2 separate regions of the Homo sapiens genome follow, and region 2 is linked to region 1. Evidence: promoter capture Hi-C in 16 types of primary human blood cells and fetal thymus (Javierre and others, 2016). All regions are on one chromosome and are shown on one strand. Each heading gives the region's core, a stretch centred on a gene start or on the middle of the fragment in contact. The rest is flanking DNA. Distances are from core to core; before and after follow the strand shown.

Region 1 (5,341 bases), core at 1,095-3,594:
TTTTTTTTTTAGAGACAGGGTCTTGCTCTGTCACCCAGGCGGGAGTACAGTAGCACCATCATAGCTCACTGCAGCCTTGAACTCCTAGGCAAAAGCAATCCTCTTAAATAGCTAGGACTACAATCATGAACCACTACGTCTGCCTAATTTTAAAAGAATTTGTAGAGACAGAGTTTCACTATGTTGCCCTGGCTGGTCTTGAGCTCCTGGCCTCAAGTAATCCTCCTATCTCCACCTCCCAAAATGCTGGGATTATAGGTGTGAGCCACCAGGCCCAGCCATAACTTTTCACTTTCTTGATGATACCCCTGAAAGCACAAAAGTTTTTAATTTATCTATTTTTTTTTCTTTTGTTGCTTGTGCTAATATCTAAGCAACTACTGTTTAATCCAAAGTCATGAAGATTTAGGCTTATGTTTTCTTCAGAGAGTTTTATAGTTTTAGCTCTTACATTTAGATCTATATGTTGCATATAGTATGAAGCAGGGATCCAAATTCATTCTTTTGCATGTGGATATCCAGTTGTCCCAGCACCATTTTTTGAAAACACTATTCTTTCCCCATTAAATTGTCTTGGCACTCTTGTTGAAAATCAATTGGCAGTAAGTGTAAGGGCTTCTGTCTGGACTCTCAGTTTTATTCCATTGGTCTGTATGCCCATCCTTATACCCGTACCACCCTGCCTTGATGACTGAAGTTTCCTAGTAAGTTTTGAAATCAGGACTTGTGAGTCCCCCAACTTATTCTGAATTTACTTTAACTTTTGATACCGAACACAGTGTGAGAGGTGAATGAACAGCATGACATTGGAGTTGGGAGCCCCCTCCCTCCAAAGGCCTTATTTTAGGAACACAGGCCCCAAGTGCCACACAAGCCTTGGAGAGATGGGTTCCCATCCTCTCAGCCCATGGCTCTTCATTATCAATCAATGGAAACATTCTTCGGAGAACAATGATTCCCTTGGGTTATTTTAAACATGGCTTTAAGTCTTCCCCACATGCTCTACTGTCTAATTGCTTTTCCTGAAACAGTGTCATTCACAACTGGATTATTAATGAACTGAGAGGGAGCCAGGGAGCCAATGAAGGGGGCTTACAGAGTTCCTGGAGAGGGCCTGGGGGCCTGGAACAAGTTCAACCCACAGATTTTCTCTCCCCCAAGAAAGGTGACTGAGCAAACAGAAAATCACTAAACTCAGGTGATGCTGGTGGCCTCAAAAGAATATTGCCAGTGAAAAAAAAAGGATTCGGGCGAGTTCCTCAAACATGACAGCTGAGAATCAAATTAACTGGGTACCATCCCCAAACTCCCCAAACTTAAACTCTGAATTTCCCCAGCTGGCTGGCCCTGGGGTGCCTAGGGCTCTCATCTGTAGGCCGGGAAAGCTCAGGAAACAAGGCCTTTGTGGAGAAGAGAAACCTATTGTTCTAAGGCCAGGGTTCAGCAAATGTGGATTCCAGAGAATGTTTGGGGAGGTTTTCTCTGCTTTGTTTATGAACTTTCTTTTCTCTTCCTGGGGTGGTGATGGTGGGGGGTGACTCTCAGCAACTTAAATAGTTAAACCCATTGTGTTGTAAAGAAAGGCTGGTGCACAGAGTGCAGAGGCCTTCAGCCCCAGAAAGAGGCTTGAATGAGGTGACAGAAGCCACCGGGTATGTTTTGCTTTTTATTTTTAGCGTTAAATCTCAGGGAAGCAGCCCCTATCTTCATCCTGCACATCTCAAAGGGCGTCAGACGTCAGCAGAGGTACGACCACTTCCTTCCTCCAGCGCTTCACCTCCCTTCTTTCCAGAAAGAGGAAATGATGCGAGTCCACACCGCAGGCCACAGCCCCCATGTCTCGGCCCCAGCAGCTGGGGGACCTGGCCCCACAGATCTGTCCCCAGCGCAAGGCCAGGGCCGGCCCCTGGACCTCCTGGGAAGCCTTCAGACTCAGGCCGCGCAGGCCTTCAAGCTAGGAACCCTGAGTTCCTGGCCCTGGCATTCATTCTGTGTGACCTTGAGCAGGTTACCACTCCTCTCTGGGCTTCAGGATTCCCGTCTGTCAAATGGGAGCAGGGATACCGTCCTTGGCTTCCCTCTTTCCATGGTCGGGGTGGGGGTTAGGAAAACTATTTTGGAGGAGGGGGCAGCGTTAGGAAAACTATTCCGAAGCCTGGCCACGTCCCAACCGGTTTCAACTTCCTGCAGCTCAGAAGAGGGGTCCCCACCCGAGAGCGCCGGGACCCTGTCCCGCGCTGCCTCCCAAGCCGGATGGGGTTGAGCGCGCCCACCCCAGTCCCAGGAGCTCAGGCCCCGCCTTGGGGGAGGAGCCGAGAGGCGGCGCGGAGGCTCGCGGCCGAGCAGAGCCAGCTCTGTCGCCGCTGGAGCAGCTGCGGCTCGGGGACCCACAGACACAGCCGGGGTCGGGAGCCGCCCGGGGCAGGGCTCGGGAGAGCGGGTGAGTTCCCCGGCGGCGCCACCACCCTCCTTGCGCTCTGCGGCTTCGCAGGGCGGGGGATGAGGATGGGGCGGGGAGGTGGTCCCAGCCTGCTATCACCTAGCTGGGGGCCGGGGCGCTTTGGCCAAGGGACGATAGCTTGAGATAAATGGGAGTGTGGGGACTCTGGAAAGACGGGTACCGAGAGCGCTAGGTCCGGGAGTCGGGCTGGAATGGGGGCGTTCTCCCCGGCCTCGCAATTCCTTGACGAGGCCAGGGGAGGGGGCGCATTGGCAGGTTGTTGGCTGCGGCCGTCGTAGACCGATCTTGGGGCGGGGAGGTGGGGTCCTCGGTCTGTTCTGGACTCATGGGGCCGCCGTCTGCCGGGGGTGCAATGCCGGGCGGCGGGAGCCACAGCGGACACCAAACAACCCCCCCCCGCGCACTCTCCCGGCCGGGCATGGTGGTGCCGCCCCCTCGCGTGGCGGGGCTTGGTCCTGGCGGGCAGCGGCAGGGCGCAGAGAGCGCTCCTGCCCGGGCGGGAAAGATCCCCAAGGCAGGCGCCTCCACCTGCAGACCCGCCCCGCCTCAGGATCCGGCTGACAGCACCAGCCAGCCCGGGGAGACCCCGCGAGTGGTAGTTCCCCGGGAGGGGCGCGCCCGGCCTCTCCCAGGGCCCCGTGCGCCGGCGGCTGGGTCCCCCGCGCCAGGAGCGCTCCCCTCTGGGCGACTCCGGCTCATCGATTCCGGCCCAGAGGAGCGCCCCCGGGCGCCGAGGATGGGCGGAGACGTGCAGCCGCCCCTGAGAGGTCGCCCAGAGGGGTCTCCCCAAGGTCACCCGGAGTGCCCAGGCTGAGCTGCCCAGACCGCCCCGGGTGGAGAGCCGGGAGGCAGGCGCTCGCTGCCCTCCTCCTTCCCCCATGTAGACTCCCTTCCTCCGCTCCCCCACCCCGGCCCGGCCTCCAGCTTCACTGGAGATGCTGATGATGCAGCTCCCAGCCCTTGGAGGATAATTGAGCCTGGGAGAGCTTTGAATCTGGCCCTCCTGAGACCCCAGGGCTGCGCCGCTGCCGCGCGCCAGGCCTGGGTCCCGGTGCTCCCGGGCACCTCAGGAGCGGAGGGAGAGGGATGTGGCTTCATCAGCGCTTCTAGGAACCGAAAACCGAGCTGCCTGCGCGCCCATGTGATTGCATTTCACATAAAGGGCCCCTGTTTTCACTGTCAGAAGAGCCCCCCAGCTCTCCGCGGCTCTGGACACCAGGTGCCGCCTCTGAATCACCCTCTGTGGAGGACCCGGGGCCCGGAGGTACAGGCGCCCTTTCCCGCAGGGCTCTCCCTGGAAAGGGCCTGCCGATGGCGGCCTCAGTCCGCAGGGGTACTTCCCTGTGTACCCTGCCATTTCCTGCGGCTGGTGAAGCACCGGAGAAAAACCGTCCATCTAGGAGGCCTCCTCCAAGGCTGGTAATAAAGCTTCTTAGCCCAGCCAGCGACTAGCTGTCTACTCGTGGGCAAGGTACTTGGCTTCTGGAGTCTCAACTGCCTCTAAGATACGGGGCTAACAGCCGCCAGGCTGTGGGGAGATGAGGGAGAGGCTGGGTGCAGCAGAGCGGGAGGATGAACACTCCTTGGCCAATACTGGCCGCCCTCGGGATTGGCTTTGAGTGGGGCGTGTCTCTCTTAGACAGGTGCAGAAGTGGAGCCCTGGTGGGTGGTTCTGCAGGGGCTGGGGGAGTTTCCACATCTTCCTCCCCCAGCTCTGTCATAAAAAGCCAGCTTGCAGGAGGCCGGTGGGGGCCAGCAAATCCTTCCAGCCGGCTGCCTGCTCACACGGCCCTTCCCACACAAATCTCCCATGCCCTTCTCTCCCACCTGTCACCCAAATCCCATCTTCCTGGCTGAGTCCCCAGGATGCTGGGGGCAAGATGTCAACCAGGCCACCCTGGACTGTCAACTCTGTGCCTACTTGTCTACTGGGGTCTACCTAACAGTGTTCCCCTGTCCTGGAACCTTCCTGGCTCCAGCTCTTCCCAGCCTCTGTAATGTCTTCTTTCCCCTCTTTTGGTCTCCTACCACCGTGACACTCATTAGTGGCTCTGTGGTTCATGTGTCAAGGGCCCCGTGCCATCTGTGCTCTCCAGATCATCCATGGCCTAGAAAGACACGGTAGGCAAGGCCCTGTGCCCACTCAGACTTTGCTCTCCCTGGTAATTGACGGAGTGGAGGTTAAATTCTAATCTAGCTGTTAAGTCATTTCAGGAGCTTGAGCCACAGGGCTAAGAGGATACTGATGTAGGCAGGTGGTTTTTCCTTAAAGCCAGAACCTTTCTCCTTTCTGCAGAGCCCATTTGAGCCCTTTGGAAACTAGGCCTATGTGTGATGGCCTCACAGAATCCTCACAACCCCGTGAAGTAGGCATTACTGATTCCCATTTTGCAGATGGGAAAACTGGGGCTCAGCTCCTCTCAAAACCAGCTCCATGCCCCAAGTGTAGCAACAGAGGCTGCAGCCAACCTGGTTTAGGAGAAGGCAGAAGGCACATACCTGAATTCAGGTGCTGTGCTTGGACTCTTGGGACCCCATCCCCCCAACCTTTCCCTCCCCTCTCCCAACCTAGCCACCACCCCTCCTGCACCCAGGACTCTTGTCACATTTGTTGACCAGGAGGTCCCAACTGGCACTCTTCCAGCAGAGACCAGGAAAACCTTCACTGTCCTGAGTGCATCTTAGCAATTGGGCTTCAAGAAGGGCTCGGACAAGCCTGCCTCTTACAGAAAGCTACGAGTATGAAGAGTGAGGGAGCCAGAGAGGTCTAATTTTAATTAGGGATCTATACCTAAAAGCTCTGTGACCCTGTATACATGACTTAATCTCTCTGAGTCTGGTTTTCTCATTTGTAAAATAGGTATCACAGTAATGCCTACT
Region 2 (5,341 bases), core at 1,559-4,058, 330 kb before region 1:
CCCATCCTCTGTGCCTGTCACTTTTCCAATTCCCATCACCCGTTGTTCTTCCAGTTAGTCACCCCTCCCTTGTCTGTTACAGGGGTTCAGTATTAATTGTGTTAGAATGCATCTGGTTGCAAGTAACATAAAACTCAACAAACTCTGGTATATATAAGATCCCTCATCCCGATAAGACAGGAAGGTAGTACAGGGTTTGTGTAGCTGCTTGAGTATGACTTAAACAAACAGGCTCCTGTCTTTCTGCTCCACCTTCCTCAGCACAGCCCTCCTCATGGCCTCTAGGCTGCTGTGCTCCCAGGTGTTACCCAGTTCCAAGCATGAAGCAGGGGAAAAGTGAAGGACACAAACTTCTCCAAGGGAAGAAGGAAGGGAAGGTCTCCTTTGATACTTCTGCCTACATCTCAGTGGCCAGGACTTTGTCTCACTGCCACCCTTAGCAGCAAAGAAAGTTGAGAGTTGTGTGCTTTGCTTTTCAGCCCCTGTAGTATAGAAAGGCAAGGGAGTGGTTGAAATAGATCTTGAGTTAGCCAACTACATAATTTGTCACACTGTGTTTAATTGAAATGTATTGCTTGGATCCAGTGTCCTGGACATAGCCTCGTTCCTGTCCTAGCACATTCTTACCCTCCTTTTCCCTCTTCCTTCCTGTAGCTATTTTTCTGGGGGGTGAGGTGTGGTCTTGAGGAAACACTCTTCAGTTTTACCCTTTCTGTGAGGATACTAGTTCCCTTATCACTCATTCCTCCATAGTCTCTTCTAACTGAGGTGAGGAGTCAGAATCTTCTTTGCTCCCTTCTGCTTTTCAGACAACCGTGCCTTCACCTCTACTCAACACCCTGACCCCTCCTCCCTCTCTCAATACCCAAGGTCAGTCTCAAGGCCAGGTCCTCCGTGAAGAATTCCACCATCCCTCCCTCCTCTTCTTTCTCAGTCCAAGTTTCCTCCTTTAGATTCTCAAAGCACTTAAGCTGTACCTCTCCAATGGTATTATTTTCTTCGTTGAAGTGAAAGCAAATTATTGAAAGTGGTACTGTTTACAAAATGTCTAGCGCATGGCAGGTGCTCGAAGTAGTATCTCTTAGTATTATTACTACTGTCTTATCTCGATCAGATTCAGCTCTTTAATGAGAGGCTCTAAATCTTATGTTCGATTCACCTTTGTAACCCACACCGGGCCTGGAATAGAGCACTGTTCATAATTAATGCTGTGCCCGTGTAATAAGACGGCGGCGAGCAAAGGGCATCATTTCAGAGGAAGAGTGCTGTAATGGTGGGATGGGAGAAATTCCTAGAACCTAGGTGGGAGCCAGAATCTTGCAGAGAAGCCCCTTATCCGTCTGCACCGAAAGCAGGTAGAGTGGATGCCGTAAGATTCCTAAGGACGCAGGTAGAGCGCCTCCTCTGTGCCGCGATGAGGTAGGTGCATCCGTCACTTCACTCCTCCCTCTCCACTTGATCCGGAATGGGAGGAACGCAATGCGTCCCGCGCGGCGATCTGGGATAGCTGCGCAGGCGCAGCTTCCGGCTCTGTGTCTCGGGAATTATTTGACGCCACCGGTTCAGCCCCGTAGAAAGCTCTGATTAGGCGCACCGCGCACGCGCAGTGGCCCACTTGGCTGGGGAGTTATTTGACGCCGCCGCCCCTGGCAGTCGGAAGTTGCCTGAGCAGATCCCAGCCGGCTGGCTCGAGTGGCCTTCGTCGTCCCTTGGCGCCCTGGGAGAGTCGCTGACGGGTGGACTGACGGACCGCCTGAGGACGGCCGGCCAGGGCGGTGAAAGCGCCAGCCCTATGGCGCGGGTCGCGTGAGGCGGAAGGCCGAGGACGGCCGGCGGCGGCGCCCGCCCCGGCGATGCGGGCCCCGCCCGTCGCCTCAGGTAACCGGGCAGCCGGCCCCGCCGCGGCCGGACCCTCCCCTCTCCTTCCCTCTCTTCCCCACCTGGCGGTCAAGGGACGGCTGAGGCTTGTTTCTCGGCTCTGGGTGCTCCAGGGGCCCGGCCTTTGGAAGCTCATCTGCAAATTTTTGGGAGACCCACGGGGGCGGGGAAAGCTTGGCCCTGGAGTGGGCGGCTGCTGTCGAGTCTGTGTAAACCCGGTCTAATCCTTGGGAGCTACCCCGGCCAGGCGAAGCTCTCTCCTGGCAACCTGGGGGAGGGGGCGGGTCTGGAGCGGAGCTAGACAACTCCCGCAAAGAATTTGGTCCAGCAGAAAGGTTAGGCAAGTTGCTGCCGCCCAGTGGGGACGATGCTGCCCATTGCACAGTGACACTTTGATGAGGGAGAGTTGATGATGGGAGTAAACAGCTAACCCCCATTAAGCGCTTCTTATCCGCCAGGCATCATGCCAGGCCATTACGTTCTCCACGTCTAACTTCACAGCAACCCTGTGAGGTAGGATTGTTGTCCCCATTTTACTGACGAGGCAACTGAGTCCCTGGGTGGTTGGGTGACTTAATTACCCAAGGTCACATAGCTAGTAATTTGAACCGGAGCATCCGACCCAAGTGCTTAACAATTAGGGCAGTGGCTCTCCAACTTTGCTACACTGTAGAATCACCTGGGGGAAATTGTAAAGGTTTCTGATGCCCATGTGGCATCCCAGACCAAAACAATCAGAATGTCTGGAGTTGAAAGCCAGACTTCAATATTTTTTTTTTAAAGATGCCCAAGTGATTCCAGCTTGCAGCAAAGTTTGGGAACCGCATGTAATTTGATAATTCTGCATCTCAAAAAGCATCTCTCTTTCTCCAGCTTAAGTGTGCAGGAGAATTGTCTGGGAGCTTGTTAAACTTGCAGGTTCCACCCGCAGAGATCTTTAGGTTGACTGACCACTACACCTTGTGAAAGACTGTTAGGGATGGAATTCTCTGCAGGGATTCTGAGTCATCTGGAACATTTAAAATGTATGCATCTTATGCAAACTGCTCGTTTGCAATTTTCCTAAATATACAGTACTTATAGGTGTAGCGTCTGTAACCTCTGGGTCGTTTTTACATATGCTGGAAGTCTGCCTAGACCATCCTCTGAACGTTCTGGCCATCCCACCCAAACGCACACACTTCTGCTCTCTCCTATATGCATATACACACCCTTTTCTTTTCTTTCTTTCTTTTTTTTAGACAGAGTCTTGCTCTGTTGCCCAGGCTGGAATGCAGTGGCATGATCTTGGCTCACTGCAACTTCCGCCTCCTGAGCTCAAGCAGTCCTCCCACCTCAGCCTCTCAAGTAGCTGGGACTACCACGCTTGGCTAATTTTTGAATTTTTTTTGTAGAGATGGGGTTTCTCCATGTTGCCCAGGCTGGTCTCAAACTCCTGGGCTGAAGCAGTCCACCCACTATGGTCTGCCATAGTGGTGGGATTACAGATGCGAGCCACTGTGCCAGGCCTACATACCCTTTTCTTCCTGTCTCTGGCTGCATTAGCTTTAAGCATTCCCTTCAAGATACCTCTGTCCCTGACCCCTACCCACCTTGAGTCCTTCCAATTTGCTCTTTAGGAACATCGTAGTGAAACTTATCAGTTATTTTTCTGAGTTGTAGTTCTATCCCTACTTCTAGATTATGAGAAGCTTTAGGGCAGGGACTATGTTTTCTTCATCTCTGTATTCCTTCCAGTGCTTTGACATACAGACTCACAAAGCTTTTACTCAGTGGAATGTTTGGGTCCTTTTATGTCATAGATAGATCATGTTGCGAACAGATTCTTCTCTATTTCCATTTTTGTAAAAGATGTTTGGTAGTTCCCAGCTTATAGAGTTTTGTTCTTTTTGCTTAGGAGTGAGTATTCTAGTTATGTTCAGCAATTTGTCCAGCAGTTGAACACACACATTGAGTTCTTACCAATTGCAAGGCACTCTGTAACTAACCATGTGCAATCAACATTGTTTGATTTTTAATGTCTGATTCTATCACAATCGGACGCAATCATGTCTGTAGGGAAAGTCTTTTTATTACTGTTAGACCTTTGCATGTGTTCCCTACTTCATTGTCCAAAAAAGTGTTTAGTTGTCATCCACTAAATGCCACTGCCTTGTTGGTATTTGGTAAATACAAGCAGATGGGATTGCCATTGGTAATGTTTGGTCCTGTTCACCAGGAGAGAGGACGTTAAGTACTTAATGAAGAGTAAAATCATGTTGTCACAGGAATTGACAAATTTAGCACATATTTATTGCAGAATGCCTGAACTGCCATTGCCCCATTTGCCATATTTACAAGTTTAAAGGAAGGCAGACCAATAATTCAGATTGGATTTGTTCTTGGTTGGTCTTAAAACCATGTAAGGATTTGCAAAAGTTAGTGAATATGTGTGTGAAGGTCATTATGAGGAGGTTTTTGGACAATAAAGATTTTTTTTTGTATAGCAATTAAACATGACAAAGTATGTAGACTGAATTAAAAACACATTTCATAAAATTTTTTTTTTCTTTTTTTTTTTTTTGAGATGCAGTCTCGCTCTGTCCCCCAGGCTGGAGTGTAGTGGCGCAATCTCAGCTCACTACAACCTCCGCCTCCTGGGTTCAAACGATTCTCCTGCCTCAGCCTCCTGAGTAGCTGGGACTACAGGCACCCACCACCACACCTGGCTAATTTTTTTGTATTTTTAGTTGAGAGGGGGTTTCGCCATGTTGGCCAGGTTCATGTCGAACTGCTGACCTTAAGTGATCTGCCTGCCTAGTCCTCCCAAAGTGCTGGGATTACAGGCATTAGCCACCGTCCCCAGCCCATAAAATATTCTTTATAAGGATTGTTATAGAAAAATTTTCTTGGTTCCGTTTTGTATTATTTGGTCAGTTTTTAGGCTTAGCACTAATAGAAACTGATGGGACAACTTATGTTAAATTCAGATACTCAAGAAACTTGTCCTTGTGTGTCTGATCAGATAGGGACACAGTATCCAGTTCTTGCTTTAGCACATGGAAGAAACTCAATCTTTAAGGCTGAAGGTTTAAGTCTGTAGTTGTGCCCCAAAGTAAAGGTGAAAAATTCCACATGCTCAGAGAACAAAAGTGACTCTAATCATGATAGCTTGGGACCTAGAAATGGATTCTGTTTAATACGAGGTACTCATCAGTGTTAGCAGGTGTGTTTCCTGACATGTGCAAAGACTTTTTGGGCAGAATAGTTGATTTTCTTTGGTGCGAGATGATTTAAGTTTTAAAATTAAGGTGCATGGAGTTTCATTCTAACTTTTTATAGATGCGGAAAGTAACTTGGTCAAGGCTACATGGTTAGCTTCTAGCACCTCCAGGACTAGAAAGCAGGCCTCCTTCCTCTGGACGGTGTCCCCTTTCGCCCCCGACCCCTTCCCCATGAGAAAGGTTGTCTTGTGTATTGTTGT

The links. The method cuts DNA at HindIII sites, captures the fragments that hold promoters and counts their contacts. A CHiCAGO score of 5 or more calls a contact.
Region 2: a fragment that was not itself captured here is called in contact with the fragment with the promoter of PPP1R16B in region 1 in 1 of 17 cell types (total CD4 T cells); the score reaches 5.0 in total CD4 T cells.

The regions. Positions count from the first base shown.
Region 1 is chr20:38,803,353-38,808,693 of GRCh38, forward strand. It overlaps PPP1R16B (protein phosphatase 1 regulatory subunit 16B), which reads left to right and starts at 2,345. Exons shown (of 11, transcript NM_015568.4): 1 at 2,345-2,440. RefSeq lists enhancers at 658-1,520, 1,521-2,382, 1,665-1,934, 2,963-3,801 and silencers at 2,195-2,574, 2,765-2,984, 3,045-3,394. The HindIII fragment of the contact is 16,329 bases long and covers 1-3,887 here.
Region 2 is chr20:38,471,192-38,476,532 of GRCh38, forward strand. It overlaps RALGAPB (Ral GTPase activating protein non-catalytic subunit beta), which reads left to right and starts at 1,652. Exons shown (of 30, transcript NM_020336.4): 1 at 1,652-1,878. RefSeq lists an enhancer at 1,373-1,442 and a silencer at 1,733-1,932. The HindIII fragment of the contact is 1,518 bases long and covers 2,050-3,567 here.